Linked DNA regions of Homo sapiens: region 1 is linked to region 2. Evidence: promoter capture Hi-C in 16 types of primary human blood cells and fetal thymus (Javierre and others, 2016). All regions are on one chromosome and are shown on one strand. Each heading gives the region's core, a stretch centred on a gene start or on the middle of the fragment in contact. The rest is flanking DNA. Distances are from core to core; before and after follow the strand shown. Region 1 overlaps UBR3 (ubiquitin protein ligase E3 component n-recognin 3). Region 2 holds the start of BBS5 (Bardet-Biedl syndrome 5).

Region 1 (7,065 bases), core at 3,401-5,900, 540 kb after region 2:
ATATGATTATTACTGATACAACATAAAAACTGCTTTTGCAAAAAATAAAGTTGAAGAACTTTATTTTTTAGGTTGATTCAGACATGTCAATAAAGCAGATTAATAAAGAATCTTCAGTTTAATGACTGAGATATAATGTTTTACTTACAGAACCAATTTAGAACTTGAATTGATTCATCGAGGAGGCAATTTGTGTTCAGGTGGTGCAAGCACAGCTGGCAAAAGGTCTTGTTTAAGTAAGTACTAAATACTGCTAAATTTAAAAAAAATTCTGTCATTTTTGGAAGCATTGACAGGAAAAGTGACATTTTGGTATATTTCAAATTTTGTCTGTTATATATGATCTATTTAGATAGTGATATATACTTTAAATGGCTAATCTTGTACTTGGAAGAATCATATGGATATTTAGCTCTTTCTAGATTATGATTACCTAGCACATAAATGTGATGCTAAGTGACGAGGTTTCAAAATTAAAGCACTGTATGATTCTCAGCTATAAAAAATTGTTCTTAAACTTTAATTCTCTTAAAGAATTTTTACATTGAATTAAGAAAATATTTTTATAAAGACAATATATGTTACCCACAGATTTCTATTATATTATTGCTATTAAGATATTTGTGCTATATTTTGATGTGTATATTAAAATGTATTGAAATTGCACGTTTGCTTTTATTTATATATATACTTTATGTTATAAAATGAGAATAATTCTTCAATCTTGTGTGTAAGGATATATTTGAGAGAAGTGTAATTTGTAATTTAAAGTAGATTTTTCATGAGCATGGCTTTGATGCTATCATTTTTTAGTCATTGTTTAGAGAATTAATGTGCATAGTAGGAATAATATTATTGAATATCAGCATATAGCTGATTATTTGCCCCAGATCACTGAAGTTGAAATATTACCTAATGTGATTGGTGTAGGAAATAAAACTTGTTTAAAACACATAATATATTCTTTTGAAAAATGAATATATATTCTCAAATACTAAAAAATAGTAAGTATTAAAAATTATCAATACATGTTGGTTTTTTAACAAAATATATGTTATTTCAAAAAATATGTAATTTTGAATTGATTCCAAAGCAAAGGGATGATCAAAAGCACTTTAAAATTTCTAACATAAAAGCAAACTTATGTGAAATTTTAACTTGGTTATCTTTAAAGTCTTATAAATTGCAGTAGAATTTGATATTTTCTTTTGGATTGTCACTTTATTCCTAGAACTTAAAATTTTGGAGGTTATTATTTTTATTTTTTAACCGAGTATTAGTAAAAATTGACCCCTTTATGCATTCATCTAAACCCTATTTCTATTCAGTGCTTTACTAGTATGTTTCAAAGGAAGTTGTTGATACATGGGAGTTTTAGTTTCTAATCTGTTTGAATTAATAGATATAATAATCATTTTAGTTATATAAATTATTCCTTCTTGTTAATTTGTTATTAATTGATGTTTGGCATTGGCTGATAATATTCCAGAAACTGTTGTGTTACAAAGTGTTTACTTTAGCGAAGGGTTTTCTGTTTTTAAAAATCTACTTATTTTTTTCTCTGAGGCACTTAAACTTATCTAGAGGCTTGTAAATAATGAATTTATCCAGATTCCTGAAAATAGTAATAAAATTCTAGTGGTAATCACTTTAATTACCAGAGTCAATTTTGTAATTTAAATTGTTAAATTTATACTTTCAGACTTTTGCTTCATTATTTTTCCCTTTACTAAATCAGAAATTATACTGTGCCAATATAGAAAAAGTCATGATAAAGTTTATCCTAAATGTAAGTTAATATTTCTTAGTTTTTGTATAATTTATTATTGTTCAGTTACTTATTTATCCTAATATTAATAAAAGCAGCCTGTAAGTCATATATATATATAGAATATGTTGTATATATGCAAAATCCCACTATCTTACAAGTGTATGAACTTAGTATTTGTTATTTATTCAAATAAAATTCAAACTTAAGTTGTACACCAGGACTTAAATTGATGATGATTCATGGGATCTCACTGCAAATATCTCATTTTTTTCATCTTCCAGTGCAACTTCAGTGGTATTATTAAAAAAAAAAAATCTATCTTTTTTCTAGGGAAATATCTTATTGTATTCATATTTTCCTTTTCCCATTGATTGCTCTTTATTGCTTTTTGAACATCTAATTTTTAATGTTTTTTCTTCCATAATGTTTTTGAGGAGAGTGAGAAAATGCCTCACTGATTAAGCAAATGATAAGGGAACTTTTTTCATTCTAAGAATATCACACTTTTGAAATACTGTTCTGTTACGACTTCTTGATGAAACTGAAAATTTGTCTAGTCAAGAAAACTTTTAATAAATTTTGTCTAGAGAGGATTGCGTAATGCCTGGTATATAATTACGGACACACACACACACACACACACAGACACACACACACACACACACACACACACACACACACAGGGGGAGAAGGGAAGATTGTTCTTTCTACAACAATGAAAGCAAAAAATATTAATGGCCAAATCTCTACTGAGAAATAAAATTGAAATGGAACAATGCCATTCAACTACATCTTCAAACATTTTTAAATAGTTGAGAGTAGTTAACCAGTGTCAATCAAAATAAAAGGTCAGTCCTAAAAATACGTGTCTGGGAAATTTTCCATAGTAAAAAGTTACTCAAATTAGCTCACATAGCAGCATAGTATGGTATTTTAATAATATAATATCCTACATTTGTAGTTTTAAAGTTTGTAAAGTTCTTTCACATAAATTATTTAATCTTTAGAACGACCATGTGAAATAGGTGTTATCTCTTTTTCATAGAAAAGGAATCTCAAGTTCAGAGTGATTGCCTTGCCAAGTCACACAGCTGGAAAATGTCAGAGCTTGCACTTGAGCCCAGCTCTTCTGACTCTAATTCAGTTATATAAGACATATCTCCTGCCCTTAAGTGTCCCAAAGGATGCAGAACTTTTAAGACCTTTCAGCCATTGGTTTAGTCAAAGACACTCTACTGTACAACATTGCCTTGGGATCTTTCCAGGCCCTTCTGTGCTAACTCTCCTATTTATCTTGTCTATTTTCTTTTGTCAGCCTTTCACCGTGAATCCTTTTTTGTTTGTTTGTTTTTGTTTTTGTTTTGAGCCATCTTTTCAGACATTTTTGCAAGTACTGAGTCCTTCTGCCCTGGATACCAGTTAGCTCTTCTTTATTCCTTGCCAGTTTGCTGGCTGGTTCCCCTTGCTCTTGCTATGAGCCATGTGCGTTAGTTCTCACATATAGCATAGCTGCCGATTCCTGGGTCAGAGCTCTAGCCCTCCTCCTTACCCACCAGGGAAGATCAGGCATTCAGGACCATGTATTCAGCACATGATACTGGTTCTAGAGACTGGTTCTCATCTGCTGGACTTGTATTCAGCAGATGAGACTTGTTCCAATGCCATGTCCACCAAAAACTTCGCTGATTCCAGCAGTGAATTTCCTAGAAGTTCTAGGGAATTTAGAGGTTTGTGATCATATCTATCTGCTGGAATCAGTGAAGCTTTTGGTGGACAAGGCATTTGAACAAGACTTTGAAAGATAAGTGAGGTTTAGAGTTTTTGTTACAAATTCGTATATACAGTAAGTACCACCAACTTGGTTAGCAACATATGTTGGAAAAAGCAGATGTAAAAATTAAAGGCATAACTTTTTATTAAAAATATTAAGCTTACTGTATTAATTTCTTCATTAAAGTGATTTGAAAGTAAATATGACACTCCATAAATTCTAGTGAAGTTCACATTCTTTCAGCACATTTTTGGCATGATATTCTCAGTGTATTTCTCAAGTAGAAATTGTTGAAACCATTGGCAATGCCATTTGATAAATTATTAATATTGGAGCATAATATAAAAAATTATTTCATTTGTAGGTAAACGTCTCTTCCTGTCTTTGGGTCTGAGAATTTGTCTGCTTATTACTGTCATTTAACTAAGAAACCACAGTTCATGTCTCAAATGGATTCCATGATTTTATAGAAAGATTAAAAATGAAATGTTAGTCAAGAAGAGGATAAGGCAAACTCTTGCCTTGACATTTTCATTTGGGAAGTTCTGACTTAATTTTGATGTAATCTATGATCTGATCAAGAAATTATGCATAGTCACTGCAGTAAATAATTTCTACCAGATTTGCTTTTCATAGCAAGCAACCCAGCTTAGATCTGTGCAGGCAACTTAAAATAGTTCTACTTGCTCAAAGAGTGAATTTTTGGTGAATTTAAAATTACAGAAAATTAGCCAGGTGCGGTGGCTCACTCATGTGATCCTAGCATTTTGGGAAGCTGAGGTTGGGAGGATCGCTTGAGTCCAAAAGTTGTTAACAGCCTGGGCAACATAGGGAGAACCTCATCTCTAAAAAGAAAAATAAAATTAGCTGGGTGTGGTGGCGTGTGCCTGTGGTCCCAGCTACTCAGGAGATGGAGGTGGGAGGATCGCTTAAGCCCAGAAGGTGGAGGCTGGAGTGAGGCATGATTGTGCCGTTGCACTACAGACTGGGTGACAAAGCAAGATACTGTCTCAAAAAAAAATTATAGAAAATTATTTTGACATTAATTTCTCCCTACAGTTAGGGAGCATAAAGATGTTAAACAAATAATGAGTTTTTACAAAATTACCCTTTTATTGTTGAGAGACAGGTTCTCCCTTTGTCACTCAGCTGGAGTGCAGTGGCACAATCATAGTTCACTGCAGCCTCGAACTCCTGGGCTCAAGCATTCCTTCCACCTCAGCCTCCCGAGTAGCTAGGACAGCAGACACACACCATCAGGCCCGACTAATTTTTTAATACATTTCTTTGTAGAGATGGGGTCTCACTATGTTGACCAGGCTGGTCTCAAGTTTTTGGCATCAAGCAATCCTCCCACCTTGGCCTCCCAAAGTGCTGGGATTATAGGCATGAACCACTATGCCTGGGCTAAAATTACTTTTAAGTAGTCTGGCCTTATTCTTTCACACTTAGTAGTAAAATTCTGACACTGATGGCTTATGAAGGCCTTTTTCAAATTTAAAAATACCAATTTCTGCAAGCAGATTGAACCACAATTTTGTTCAATTTTTTTTGTTACCATAAAAAAGGAAAATTTGGCCATCAAATTATTATAATGGTCAAAAGGTATAAATTAATACAAAAATGTGTAAATTGTCTCCTGAGACTAGTTATTGATCAGATTTGATGGCTAAAAGGTGATTTTGTGGTATTTGGGAATGTTTTATGTTCTGAAGAGCAAGTTGGTATGTATTTAGGGCCAACATGAAAGATACATATGTGGTGGAATAGACAACAGCAAACTAGGATCATAAGCATGTGCTTAGGCAAGACATTTTATGTTTTTGGCTTCAGTTTCCTCATCTATAAAATTAGTGTACTAGGCTGGATGCTCTGTCTCCTGACAGATGTTCATGGTTGTTAACTGTTACATGCAAAGCTCAAATCTGGAGCTTTTCCCCCCTGTTAATTAACATCATTGACATTAAGCATAAAAGGCAAATAGCTGGACTAGGAGTTATACTCTAGGAACTTTTAGAATTATACTTTATCTACAGTCATACACTGTAGAATAAATCAAAGCTTGGAGTTTTTGTTTTTCTTTTCTTTTGATACATCTTACAAATTCAGAAGATTTTGGTATTTTGTTTTATATTTTATTTTGCTCTTCATTTTAAATAGTGCATAAATAAAAAATAGAGGCTGTCAGTGAAATCACATGATAAATAGAATCAGAATCTTTGAGCTAAAAGTTACTTAGGAAATCTCCTAGTCTAAATGTTATCTAGCTCAGGCATCTTGTACCTACTATTCCAATCGTTTGCACTGTGCTTGAACACTTTCAGAGATAAGGAGTACTGTTTGAGATAGGTGAGGAGTTTGGTAAGCCTTTTAAAGGATGGTGATATTAAAAGGCAGCATAGTGTAAACTAGAGAGTGAGATTCTGTTCCTCATTAATACCCAATCAGAGGATTGTTGTAAGAATTCAATTTTATAATATATATTCTAGTTTCTATAGATTGTAAATCTCAACATTAATATTTCTCCTATTTCAACACTATAATTGTCAAATTGGGGGGTGTGTGGATAAGGAGAAGGAGCAAGATAACACTTTTTAGCTCAATTTTTGTCTTAGTCTATAACAATATACCATAGACTGGGTGGCTTATATACAACAGAAATGTATTTCTCACAGATCTGGAGGCTGGGAAGTCTAAGATCAAGGCTCCAGCAGATTTGGTGTCTGGTGAGGGCCTGCTTGCTTCCTCATACATAGCTGTCTTCTCACTGTAACCTCACGTGGTGGAAGGGGCAAGAGATCTCTCTGGGATCTCTTTTATAAGAGCACTAATCCCATTCATGAGGGCTTCCTCGTGACCTAATCACTTCTCAAAGGCCCCACCTCCTTATACTAACCTTGGGGTTAGGACTTCAACATATGAATTTTGGTGGGACATAAACATTCAGTCCATTGCAGTTTTTTTTAAGGGACTTGACAGACTTTCTTTTGACCTCTTCAGAGATGAGATTAGGAGGACAGAATGAGATTTATCCCCATGATAAAGTTTATCTTTTGAGAACAAAATACATTGTTAATTTGGAGAGGTTTAAGAATGTGGCATGAAAATTTAAGTTAGAGGAGTGGCTTTAAATTTTCTTTAAGGCCTTTCTGAAAGTGCCATGATTTGTGACTTAAGTAGCCAGGCCTTTCTGTATTTATAATTTGGGCATTCAAGAACTAAGTACCATAGATAGTAATTTTCACTATCAGGACATAGGAGTCTTTGGATCTTACTTGGCTTAGGGCGAGGCAGCTTCTTTCTTCTGCAGTTAGATAGGACAAACTCTACCCCCATTTTAAACGAGGTGCTTAAATAAGACCTGGATTCATGGAATGTGCCTCTTTAGTAAAGAGGAAGTTAGGAGTCCTAAGAACTGACCTCTCTTCCTAGGACTACCTATATGCAGAAGCAGAATTGTCCTCTCCCTGTCTCTTATCATCCCAAGCTCTGTCGGAAAGCGAAAAGGGGAGGCTTCTAGTCC
Region 2 (6,565 bases), core at 1,981-4,480:
CACTCACTGCAACCTTCACCTCCCATGTTCAAGCAATTATCCTGTCTCAGCCTCCTGAGTAGCTGGGATTACAGGCGCCTGCCACCACACCTGGCTAATTTTTGTATTTTTAGAGGAGACAGGGTTACACCATGTTGGCCAGGCTGGTCTTGAACTCCTGACCTCAGGTGATCTACCTGCCTTGCCCTCCCAAAGTGCTGGGATTACAGGCATGACCCACCGCACCCAGCCTAGCAGCTGGCTTCTTCAAGGCAAGTGGGAGGGTCTTTCTCACCCCAGTTGGCTGAGACCAAGTCTTTTATAACATAACAGTCGTGGGAATGACATTTCATCACCTTTGATATATTCTATTGACTAGAAGCAAGTTCTCAGGTTCCAACCACACTCATGGGGAAGAGATTATACAAGGGCATGACTCATTGGAGTCCACCTTAATGTGTGTACACTCACGTTCCTTTGTCTCCATCACCCTCTTCAATCTGAGAAAAACACCTCATGGCCTTTCACATTAGTATCCCTAGTATTTGGCATATAGCCTGACCTATAGGAGCTCTAAATAATAATTCAAAGCTGCAGTTATCAAACTTTTGGTTTTGGGACCCCACTATCCTCTTAAAAACATTATTGAGGACCTAAAAGAGCTTTTGTTTACATACATTATATCTGTTAATACTGAGCGTTTTAAAACTCATTCATTCAAAAGTAAAAATCACTTATTATGTATTAACATATATAGCATTTTTAAAAAATAATTATATTTTCCAGACAATTTGTGAGAACATTGCTTTACATTTTTGCAATTTTTTTTAATGCCTGGTTTAGTAAAAGGCACCAGGATTCTCATACCTGCTTCCACATTCAATCATCATGCCTGGGTATGGTGGCTCTTACCTATAATCCTAGTGCTTTGGGAGGCTAAAGCAGGAGGATCACTTGAGGCTACGAGTTTGAGACCAGCCAGGGAAACACAGAGAGACCCTGTCTCTACAAATAAAATAAAATGAAATAAAAAATTAGCCAGGACTATGCCCGTAGTCCCAGCTACTCGGGAGGCTGAGGCGGGAGTATCACTTAAGCTCAGGAGCTTGAGATTACAGTGAGCTGTGATCGTGCCACTGTACTTCAGCCTGGGTGAATGAGACCCTGTAAGACAACAACAACAACAACAACAACAACAACAAAATCATATAGCCTCTGGAAAACTCCACTATATGTGAATGGGAGTTAAAAAGGCAAATGATGTCTTCACATTATTATGAATATAGTTTGACCTTGTGGGCCCCCTGTAGGGATCCAGATCAGTCTTTGTGAACCACTAATTTAAATAATTGTCATGCATTGAGAAAAGGGACTTTGATTCATTCAAGAAGTATTTACTGGGTCCTACTCTGTGCTGGGTATTGTTCAAAGCAGTCAACTAGATAGATCAGGTGTCTGTCCTCGGGTTGTTCACAGCAGGTGGGGCAGAAGGATCAGGGACTGCTGGAGTTGACATGTGAGCTGAGATGTGATTTGATTTGATTTGATTTGACTTTTTTTTGGAGCCAGAGTTTCGCTCTTGTTGCCCAGGCTGGAGTGCAATGGTGTGATCTCGGCTCACTGCAACCTCCGCCTCCCGGGTTCAAGTGATTCTCCTGCCTCAGGCTCCCGAGTAGCTGGGATTACAGGCGTCCACCACCGTGCCCAGCTAATTTGGGGTTTTTAGTAGAGATGGGGTTTCACCATGTTGGCCAGGCTGGTCTCGAACTCCTGACCTCAGGTGATCCGCCCACCTCGGCCTCCCAAAGTGCTGGGATTACAGGCCTGAGCCACAGCGCCCAGCCCAAGCAGAGATTTAAGTGACAAAGGGCAGGCCTATGCAGAGGTCTGGGGAAACAGTGTTCCAGGCAAAGGAAGGGGGCCCTCCAAAGTCTCTGAGCCCTGTCTGGCAAGAGAGCAGCCAGAAGTGAGGGTGGTTGGAGGTTGCAGACATAGGCAGGGCCACATTGAGCTAGGCCCAGGTAAGGAATTTGAAGCTTTAACTCTAAATTTCTTTTTTCCTCATTCTAAAACCATCCCAATAAAATTTATAAAAGTAATCAGGGAAGAAAGTGTGGGGGAGGGGACAAAAATAAACCAAGCTTGCAGCCAATTCGGCATTAATCATGAGGTCAGCTTCCTCTCTGACCTGCTTGCTCAGAGTTGTTTGGTGCCTATTGTCCTAGAATCATGCAGACCCTGTCACAAGATTATAGTTCCCTTCTATTGCTCTATAGAGAACAACTTGAACATTATGAAATACTCAGTTTTCCCTTTGAGATAGTCTTTCAGATCCTGCATACCAATGAAACTACTGCCTCAGCTGGCCTGAAGGATCCCACTGATGCCAGCTGGTCTGAGGAACCCGTGAGAAACTGATTCAGCAAAGAATGCAGCTTCCCTATCCTGATGATTTCATCTCCCTTACTCCGACCAATCAAGGACCCCAATTTTCCAGCCCCTCGCCCTCTGTGATCCTCTTAAAAACCTCAGCCCAGAACTCTTGGGAAGATAGATTCGAGGATCTCTTCCCATCTCTTTGCTAGGTGCCCTGCAATCATTAAACTCTTTCCCTGCTGCAAACTCTGCTGTCTTCGTGTAATGGGTTTGTTACTGCACAGCAGGCATACGAACCTGTTGATCCTATATCTCTATCACCTAGGCTGGAGGGCAGAGGCACGATCATAGCTCCCCGCAGCCTCCACCTCTTGGGTTCAAGAGATCCTCCCGCCTCAGCCTCCCGAGTAGTTGAGCCTGCAGGCGTGCACCACCACCCCTGGCTAATTTTGGGTTGGTTTTGTTTGTTTGTTTGTGTTTGTAGAGATGAAGTTTCGCTATGTTGCCCAGGCTAGTCTCGAATTCCTGGCCTCAAGTGATCCTCCAGCCTCGGCCTCCCAAACTGCAGGGATTACAGGCAGAAGCCACCATGCCCGGCTAATAACCTGAATCTCTTGACGGTGAAGAGAAATAAGGAGAGGGGTAAAATGGCTAAAGGATGTCTGTTTGGAGGCAAGGAAGGTCGCCCAGAGGTCAGGCACGCTCCCCTTGGCGGACACAGCTGGGCTTCTCAGAGACTCCTAAATCCTGCCTCGCATCTCAAATCGGCTTAACGACGCGAAAGAGCTGGGCGACGCGCGCGCACTCTCGCGGAAGCTTGAGTCTCGGCGCCCGCCGTAGACGTCGTGACAGAGGCGGCCCGTTGCCTTGGAGCCAGAGAGACGCAGCTAGGCCTGCACGGCTGTGGAGAGATCCTGCCACGGGCCTTGTTCACCATGTCGGTGCTGGATGCGCTTTGGGAGGATCGGGATGTCCGTTTCGACCTGTCCGCGCAGTGAGTTTCCAAGATTCCCGAGGGATCTTCAACCCTGTAGAGGGCGCCGCCGTGCGCGTTAGGGACCCGCGGGCGGAGACTGCACCTCCGCAGCTCGCGGCCCTGGTGAGGGTGGGAGGCTTGCGCCGGTCGTCCGCGCCTCGAGAGACCTCAGGCTGGTTGGGCCACTGTGGCCCTCTCGAGGCCGGCGCCGCGGCAAGAGCGCATCGGCATTACACAGTTTTGGTCCCATGCGACCTCCGGTTCCCCCATCCTGGCCCGCGGGACGGATCAGGAATGTGAACCTGAGCACGACCGGGGCCACCCGGGGCTTAGCGTCCCGTATACACCCACGTGAGCTTGGGATTTCAGTTTCATGGAAGGAACGTAGGTCAGGGACTCAGGAAACTAGGGTTCTAAAAGTAGATGTGTAATATCGACCCACAGTGTGGGCCCTTGAGCAGATGTCTTCATCATTCAAGCTAGAATCCTCATGTCTGTAAAATAAGGGAGGTGGGAGTAAGGCAGTCGTCAAAAATTACTAACCGCGCAAACTTTATGTCCTTGGTAAGCTTTCATCTAGTTATTCATATCAGTCACCAACAAGAAGGAGTCTTCTTTTGCAACCTGTTTTTGGAAATTATCATACATTAAATAGAAACCATGTTTTTGGAAAGTATCGTAAAGAAAAAGTGGTTAGAAACCTCCTACTCCAAAATCCAGGGCGGGAAATGCCGGTTGGGTTACTAAGTGTTGAGAAACGCTAAAGCTAAGATTCCTGGATTAATGGCATGGAGCTTCTTAGCTACTTCTTATCGTTCCTTATCATGGACCTCCCCTCCTTAGGTGGAATCGTTCCTTATCATGGACCTCACCTCCTTAGATGGAATCGTTCCTTATCATGGACCTCACCTCCTTAGATGGAAAAATGAAATATTGATAAATTTCTCAGGTTAAGTATAGCTAGATATCTAATGCTAACATGTTAGACCCTTTAAGAAGATGAAAGAGAAAGGAATTCGTAAAATTACGGACTGTAGTAACATATTGCGCACTTTCTATGACATTTTCTGTCATTCTTTTTTTTTTTTTTTTTTTTTTTTTTTTGAGACAGAGTTTCGCTCTTGTTGCCCAGGCTGGAGTGCAATGACGCGATCTCGGCTCACTGCGACCTCCGCCTCCCAGGTTCAAGCAATTCTCCTGCCTCAGCCTCCAGAGTAGCTGGGATTACAGGCACGCACCAACACGCCTGGCTAATTTTGTATTTTTAGTAGAGACGGGGTTTCTCCATGTTGAGGCTGGTCTCGAACTCCTGACCTCAGGTGATCCGCCCGCCTCGGCCTCCCAAAGTGCTGGGATTACAGGCGTGAGCCACTGCGCCCGGCGACATTTTCTGTCTTTCTTGTAGGGTTCTTAATCCAAACAAAAGTCCGTTTCAGTAACATTAGTAAACATTTATCCATGTTTTATTACGTGCTAGTTACTGGGCCGATAGCTAGAGACAGAAAATAATAGGAAATGATATTCATATCCCCCCGTTCTAGTGCAGGAGATACATACAGACAACCACTATAATAAATGTGGTAAATACCATTCTGAAAAAATGAGCGAAAAGCTGAGACTCATAGAAACAGAACAATTTATTCTACCTGGTGAAGTCCTTGAAGAAGAATAAATATTCATAGTATTTGAGTTGTTCCCTGAAGAATGGGCAGAGCCTTGTCAGGGTAGACAGGAGGAGAGTATTCCAGAAAAGAAGAAAAGAATTTAGCGTTAGAAGCAGTCTTGGAGCTGTAACCTCATTAGCTAAAGGCAGGGTCTGCTGCAGAGAGAGGTTGGAAGTACAAATAGATAAATTAGCCAGATTGTAACATTTTTAGCTCAGGATTTTGGACTTCAACTTCTAGGCAGCAGGAAGATATAGAAAGCTTTTAAGCAGGGAAATGATATGGTCATATCTGTATTTTCAATAGGTAGTTGAGTTGGCTTTATGAAGAGTGTATTAGAAGGCTCTTTTAGATATTTTGCTAGGTTTTTTTTTTTGGACACTGTAGAATGTATTCTGTCTGTCAGCAAGCTGCTCTTATTTCCTTTTGTCACCTGTATCTATTTGTCAAATTCCAAAGATGCTTTTCATACAGCTCTTCTTTAACCATTCCTTCTATAATTTCCTGATGTCCTTTCCTCTACTCAGAAACCTTTGGAGGTTCTCTCCTGTGCACAGGATAAGGCCTAAACCTATCAGACTGGCATTCTGAGTTCTCCATAGTCTGGTTCCTCCTTAGTTATCCAACAATATTTCTCTCACTACCTCCCAATATGGTCCTTCTTTCCAAGCTTGGCCAGCCTTCTCCCATGTCCTTACCATTTCTTATTCCTGGTCTTTAATCATGGACTCTCTTTTCTTTTCCTTTTATTTTTCAAAATTCAACACCTCCTACCAATCTGGCTTACTCCAGATGGCCCTGGTCACTCCAGGCCCCACTGATCTTCAGGTTCTTGAAGTTCTTGAAGACCTTATTTCTAAATGCATGAACATTTGGTACAGTATTATTTATGCTGTTAGCTGTTTTATGTACATATGTCTCTTTTCTCCCTAAATAGATTGCAAGCAGGTATAGTTGTAGCTATAAAATTCAAACCTTTATATTCACTTTAGGCAAATGAAAACAAGACCTGGAGAAGTCCTTATTGATTGTTTAGATTCCATTGAAGACACCAAAGGAAATAATGGAGATAGAGGTGAGTATATTTTTAAATGTATCTTATATTCCTGGTTTAATTTACAAATGTTGAATCATATTAGCTAGAGAATATATGAAACAGCATCATTTGTCAGTGTAATTGTGAGAATAGGAGAGTTAAATTCACATAAGACTTTTCTCAGATTTAAACAGAAGACAGGATAGGTATTAAACATGTAGTTTGGTCCTTCAGTAAGTCCTGGTTCTAACATCACCTTTATCCATTGTAGCTGTTAAAACTCAAGTAGACCTGTTTGCAAGGGGCATTAGTTCTGACCGTTAGATCTGTCTTCCCAAAAAAGGATATGGGGTAGTGGAATATAAGTAGGTCATAGCTGTAGTACCTGGAGCCATGCTTCCTTTTCAAAAATTCAGAAGTAATGCACCATCAATCACCTATGGTTGTCACCTAGACATGGATATGCGGAGAGCAAATTTAGTCCTGCACTGTGAAATCTATTTGTAGGTCAAGTACTAGAAAATCCTGTGAGTC

The links. The method cuts DNA at HindIII sites, captures the fragments that hold promoters and counts their contacts. A CHiCAGO score of 5 or more calls a contact.
Region 1: a contact is called between a fragment that was not itself captured here and the fragment with the promoter of BBS5 in region 2, in 1 of 17 cell types (M2 macrophages). The highest score is 5.2, in M2 macrophages.

Annotation. Positions count from the first base shown.
Region 1 is chr2:170,015,131-170,022,195 of GRCh38, forward strand. It overlaps UBR3 (ubiquitin protein ligase E3 component n-recognin 3), which reads left to right. Exons shown (of 39, transcript NM_172070.4): 30 at 151-236. Among named protein-coding and RNA genes, the nearest start is that of MYO3B, 160 kb to the right of the region's middle. The HindIII fragment of the contact is 1,902 bases long and covers 3,700-5,601 here.
Region 2 is chr2:169,476,264-169,482,828 of GRCh38, forward strand. BBS5 (Bardet-Biedl syndrome 5) reads left to right here and starts at 3,231. Exons shown (of 12, transcript NM_152384.3): 1 at 3,231-3,349; 2 at 5,988-6,070. The coding sequence starts at 3,291. RefSeq lists enhancers at 3,045-3,154, 3,165-3,504. The HindIII fragment of the contact is 729 bases long and covers 3,170-3,898 here.